Linked DNA regions of Homo sapiens: region 2 is linked to region 1. Evidence: promoter capture Hi-C in human tissues and cell types (Jung and others, 2019). All regions are on one chromosome and are shown on one strand. The core of a region is centred on a gene start or on the middle of the fragment in contact, and the rest is flanking DNA. Distances in the headings are between cores, read along the strand shown.

Region 1 (3,130 bases), core at 309-2,808:
GTAGAGATGGGGTTTCACCTTGTTAGCCAGGATGTTCTCCATCTCCTGACCTCGTGATCTGCCCGCCCCGGCCTTCCAAAGTGCTGGCATTACAAGCGTGAGCCACCGCGCCCAGCCACCCAGGCTCCTTTGACAATGATTTTAAGTGAACTTCAGGTCCAATTTGCAAAACCCCAAAAGCAGTGGGCTCTGTCAGTGGCTGCAGTACTGAAGGGCAAGAAGTAGAATATGTTCTTCTCTGCATTCATAGCTTTATGTGGATGATGACTGTCATCTTTGAATGTACAATGGGGATATATGGGGTTAAAAGTAGAAGTGATCTTAATGTTTGTCTTTACCATAATTATTACCTCCCTTGGGAATTTTATATCCTGTCTTGTTAACGCTTAAAAACAATCAGTGTTCTACATGAAATTATTTAGTGTTTTCCACTTCAGTTTAATTTATATTCAGAGCACTTAGATTATTTACACAAGTAAAAATTCCAGGGGGGTGGGGGAGAGTGTGTGTGTGTGTTTTAATAGCAAATGGAAGTGTATAAAGAAAAGGAACATGAGTCAATGAGGGTAACTAAGAACCTGATCTTGGATGGAGGATCAAGGAATGTCTCCCTGAGTAGGTGATACTTAAACTGATAAACAGGAGTGAAGTGGGCTACAAGTGCTGGTGGTGAGCCTTTTAGTTCAGAAAAAAACACTTGCAAGAGGTCTAGTGCCAGAAGGAGAGGTTGAGGCACTTTATTATATAAAGAGTAAAATACGTCCGGATAATGCATGTAGAACCAGCAAAAATTTGTGAAGTATTCTCTTGGGGAACTAGAGTAAGACCAAGAAATGTTGTGTTTGGGATACCAGCAAAGCAAGGGCCCCCAAAACATGACTAAAATCGAGTTTGATAATTAACTAGAATTTTGCAATAAGAGCATCTAAAAAGATGATATAAATTGAGTATGTTAAATTTTGTGTCATTTATAAGTTTTTATTTTGCATTACATAGGTGGGGAAGATAACGTTCATCTTACCTGAATTTTCAGTGCTTAGGACTTCTAAAGGGCTTCAGCCTTAGGGACAATTCTAGTCAAGCCCAGTTTCTTCCTTTTTACAATAATAAGCTGGATCCAAAAATTGTGATTTATCTTACGTGCCCCACGTGGCTAGTGACACGATCTAGGCCTAAAATTCAGAGCTCTTGAGCTAGCACTTCCTGCCCCTTTAAGAATGAAGGAACTTGTAGAAAAATAAATCCAAGGTTAGTAGGCAGGGGCTCCAGCTGAGTCCTGGCGGGAAGTTCTTTGAGAGCTAGAACGCCCCAAGACAAAATGTATTCGCTAAGTCGCAAACGCTCGACATGTTACCATGGTTACAGCTGTCTCCAAAGCCAATGGAATGAGTTGTACTATCGATACGGCCGGGACAACTCCGCCCCCGACCCGAAGGCCAATGGTGTGAGACATAATAACAGTCTCCACAAGAACCACAGTCTCTGGTTCCACTGGCGTGCGTCGTCTCTATGGTTCCCGCCGGAAGGACGCGTCTGCGTCTCTGCGGCGAGCGCGGTTGCTATGACGCCCAGGTCTCCGTAGGCACCTGCAGCTAGCAGCTGAGCGCGTAGGGGCCGAGCGACCCCGGGACGCTCGCGGCACCCTCCGCAGGAAAATTTCCGACTTGGTTCTTGAGGTTCCTGCCTCAGCCCCAAGGAGGAAAGCACCCATTCTCCCCTCTTTTCCGCATTACGGGCCTTTTCTGCTTCTCCCCAGTATGGTCCGAAACTACAGGAGGGGAACCCCTCCTGGCCCGGCCTTTCTATTCCCTGGCTGGAGTGATTCCGCCTGAAGGAGAATTCGCCCGTTTTCCCCGGACCCAGCTGCCACAAGCATTTAGTATTAGGCTGCCGCTTATTATTAGAGCGGGCTTAGAACATCCTCAGCGAGGTAGGTCGGCGTTCCTTTTCTCACTTAAAGGTGAGGTGTCGAGACGCGCCCCTGGACAGACAACGCCCGAAGGTCCAGGCCACTACGAAGTCCACGGAGGGGCAGCTTTCCCCTACGTGTAGGCCCGCGAACAAAGAACTACCGTTTTCTGATTTTTTTTGGCCGATGTTCGTCATGCAGAACCTTGAATCCCGATGAAGATTTGGAGGCCTTTTGTATCCTCAACATCAGAGGTCATGAAGTCAGTTACCTTCTGCCTTTCAAGCTACAACTTTTTCCACTTCTCTCATCACTCCAAGCACCAGCTTTCTCATCCTGCTTATTTCACAGCCATTTTAACTTTTCCCTGTTCACGCTGCACATTATTGAATGTCCATTTGTCTGCACCACCTCTGTCATCTATAGACCACCTCCTTCTGCTTTCCTGCTACAATGCTTTGCGTACCTAAGTATTTCGCATTCTCCAGCTCTGCAGTCATTGGGAAGATTTTCTGTTTTTCTTTGCACTATGGCAACCTTTCAGTCTTGGGTAAACTAGAGACTAGGAGAAGTGCAAATTGGTAAATATAAACATTAAATACTGTAGGTCTAGTGTGTTTTGAAAATGGAAAAAAAAATCAAAATTGCAGTATTGGACCCATTTCAGGCTTACATAATGAAAGAAGGTTGTTCCTTGTTTCATTAAATTTTATTGATGTGTTTATCAATGTGAAAAGGGCATTCAAAGTGATCATGTAAGACAGGATTTCAACTTTAAGCCCATATGAACCCAACACTGGGGATATGATGTAATTTTCTGGAGAGGAGATGATTGAAATAGTACTTGTGCCTTCTTTTCCTGTCAATTTCTGAATCAGAAAACATTCTTTGTGATGTAAGCCAATAAATGAAAACAATAAGGAGTGATTGAAAATAAATATTTTTGGCAAGGGAGCAGACACAATTGTTCTAAAAAGGCTGGAACAGAGGGCCTTAAATATGGCATAAGATTAATTTAGATCCAGTGCAATTTTATTTTAGCTTGGAAAGCTTGACTTAATTTGTCTTACAATACGCATTCCTTGTTGAATCTTACTATTTCTTCTTCAGTATTCAGGTTTAAAAGTAAACCTATTTTGAGGACATACAGAACATACACATTTTAAACAGCTATTTGGGGCTACAATGATTTGGATATTTTGATTTCTCAGTCCAATAGAA
Region 2 (3,130 bases), core at 318-2,817, 41 kb after region 1:
AAACTCTATCCATTATCCATTAGTATCCATTTCTTATTTTTCTACCTGCCCCCTCCCCCCAGCCTCTGGCAACCACTAAAGTACTTTCTGCCTTTGAATTTGGCTATCTTGTACATTTTACATAAGTGGAACCATACAATATGTGGACATTTGTGTCTGCCTTCTTTCACTTAGCATAATGTTTTCAAAGTTCATATTGTAGTATGAATTAGTACTTTATCCCTTTCTGTGGCTGACTATTTTATTGTATGGATTTTCTTTTTGAGACAGGGTCTCACTCTGTCACCCAGGCTGGAGTGCATGCTCACTGCAGCCTTGACCTTCCAGGCTCAAGCAATTTTCCCACCTCAGCCTCCTGAGTAGCTAGGACTATAAATGCGCACCACCACACTCAACTAATTTTTGTGATTTTTTAGTAAAGACAAGGTCTGGCTATGTCACCCAGGCTAGTTTCAAACTCCTGAGCTCAAGCAATCATTCCACTTGGCCTCCCAAAATGCTGGGATTATAGACATGAGCCAGTACACCCCACCCTTAGTGAAGTGGCATTGTTGTCAGGGGTAAATACCTGGGGTTCGTCATCTTACACTAAGAAGATTAAAGACAGAGACACACGTGGGTGGGCTAAGGAGTGGAAAGTTTAATAGGCAGAGGAAAAGAGAGAGGAGAGCAGCTTTCTCTTTTGTGAGAGAGAGGGGCATCCAAAAGATAAAAGCTGGCCTGCAGCAGACTGCATCAGATTTTATAGGCAAGCTTGAGGAGGCAGTGTCTGATTTATGTAGGGCCTACAGATTGGTTCAACTAGGTGTGACGTTTACATAGCATGTGGGGAAGGCTTGTCACCCCACCCTAATCTTAATATGCAAATGGGCTTTCTACTTGGCCAGCGCCATCTTGTCTGCTCCATACTGTACACGTGGCTGGCAAAGAGAAGAGAAGATGGAGCTGCCATTTTGATCATGCCTAGTCCCAGGTAGCCTTTTCCTATTGGCACAACTGCTGGCATTCACCTTTGCAAGCTTCCAGCTTATTTGTCTATGTCTGCAGCTCAATTTTACAGGCTGCTCTTTGTTAGAGAAGAAAATGATTTGGGGGCTGCTTTTCATTAAAATTAAAACCTTAATGAGGACTTCCTTACCCTCACTATCTGCCTAAATAATTTCTTTTTAACTCCTATCTTATTCCCCCCTCAGGAGTGGTAACCCTAACTGTGGAGACCAGCTCAGTCAGGGAGACCCTCACCCAGTGGCGCTAGAGGAATTAAAGACACACACACAGAAATATAGAGGTGTGAAGTGGGAAAGCAGGGGTCTCACAGCCTTCAGAGCTGAGAGCCCCGAACAGAGATTTACCCACATATTTATTAACAGCAAGCCAGTCATTAGCATTGTTTCTACAGATATTAAATTAACTAAAAGTATCCCTTATGGGAAACGAAGGGATGGGCTAAATTAAAGGAATAGGTTGGGCTAGTTAACTGCAGCAGGAGCATGTCCTTAAGGCACAGATCGCTCATGCTATTGTTTGTGGCTTAAGAATGCCTTTAAGCGGTTTTCCGCCCTGGGTGGGCCAAAACATGAGGGCATGTTCCTTGCCCTCATTCCGGTAAGCCCACCACCTTCCAGCGTGGGCATTATGGCCATGATGAACATGTCACAGTGCAGCAGAGATTTTGTTTATGGTCAGTTTTGGGGCCAGATTTCAGGGGGCTTGTTCCCAACACCTGTTATCAAGGGGTTTTAGGTGATGACTCTTTCTCACTACTTTCTGCAGAAAAGGGGTGCCCTGTGGAGAACACCAGCTGGGGCTTCTCTTAGGGTCCTCAGAAGAAAGGCATGTCGATGCATGGTTCTGTCTGCAGCACCATTTGGAGTTTGATTGCTATCTGCCATTCCAATGGGTTGTAATACTCATTTGCCTCCACCAGATGCTGCTGAAATGTTAATAGTGTTAATATAAAAGTAACATTAACAAATGTTAATAATGTTAGTATAAAAGGATAAGTGGCATTGGATTTGGGTGGCTAGAGTAACTAGTGTTAACCTTGGCTAAATCTTTCCTGCAATTATTAATTCTTTTGTGACTTCCACAGACCGTTTATGACATGTTTAAACTTTCTGACTTTTCCTAAACATCCCTCTTTTTAAACAAGCAGTTATTCTCTTCAGGATAAAATTTTACCATACAAGATCCTTTCTTATATAAAATCTATTTTCTTTATAAACTTCTTTGCATAGCTAGGGTGTGACATATTACCAAACCCAATAAAAAGTCCTGGTGGACTCAGCAATAGTGAAACCTTCATGTTTACCTCTTGTCAGTAGCTATTATTCCTGCTATAAGGATAATAATTAAGCAAAATACTACAGCAGTGGAAACTCTCTGTCCAATATTTCAGTTAGAAGGTGCTACCATGTATAACTCTACCACAAATAGTAGAGTGTGTGTAGCGATTCCCACAAGGGTGGTGTAGTAGATCATTTCCATCTAAAATTTTAGTTGCCAAGATATAGAATTTCCCTTTTGGAAGGTCTATGAAGTTCCTTGGTTTTATTTTCCTAAAGAAATTTCTGCGTTATGAGCAACCTACTCACTTTTATTACATGGCAGGATTTGCAGGATAATTGGCCAGAACTATCTGGCCAATTATTTGCAGGATAATTGATCCAGATTTTTACATTACCCATACATTTTTCTTTTTCCCAAGCTGCAGGAAATCATTACTTGATTCACAAGAATAAGCAGGGCTAGCCTAAAATGTAGGGAAAAAAAACTTAAAAATAACCAATGAAACTAGAATTTAATGACAAATGTATAAGTTTTGGAGCATAATTTTTTTCTCTCTAGTCCTCATTTTCAGTAAAAACAAATTATGATAGGACCATGTTGTTTGTAGAATAAAGTTTAGTCATATACTTGGCCTGATTATTTGCATAAAGTGCAACAAGAATAATTATTTCTACATAGGCCTTTTGGATTGGATTTGATGAAACTCTGTTCCAGGAGGAATCTCAAATAATACCTTTTAAAGCCAAGTCCAGCCATGGGTTTTTATCCTTAAATACCTGTGAGTTGGGTGATCCTTTCCTCTTAAGTTCCTAAGATAAGCTTGGAGCACCTGGACCTGTTA

Evidence for each region. The method cuts DNA at HindIII sites, captures the fragments that hold promoters and counts their contacts. A contact is called where the count stands out against the background at its distance.
Region 2: a fragment that was not itself captured here is called in contact with the fragment with the promoter of CCDC30 in region 1 in 1 of the 25 tissues and cell types used here (pancreas).

The regions. Positions count from the first base shown.
Region 1 is chr1:42,461,728-42,464,857 of GRCh38, forward strand. CCDC30 (coiled-coil domain containing 30) reads left to right here and starts at 1,559. Exons shown (of 21, transcript NM_001395517.1): 1 at 1,559-2,171. It also overlaps a transcript of PPCS not described here. RefSeq lists a silencer at 1,456-1,505. The HindIII fragment of the contact is 7,916 bases long and covers 1-3,130 here.
Region 2 is chr1:42,502,651-42,505,780 of GRCh38, forward strand. All of the region lies in intron 6 of CCDC30 (coiled-coil domain containing 30), which reads left to right. Among named protein-coding and RNA genes, the nearest start is that of CCDC30, 41 kb to the left of the region's middle. The HindIII fragment of the contact is 3,216 bases long and covers 1-3,130 here.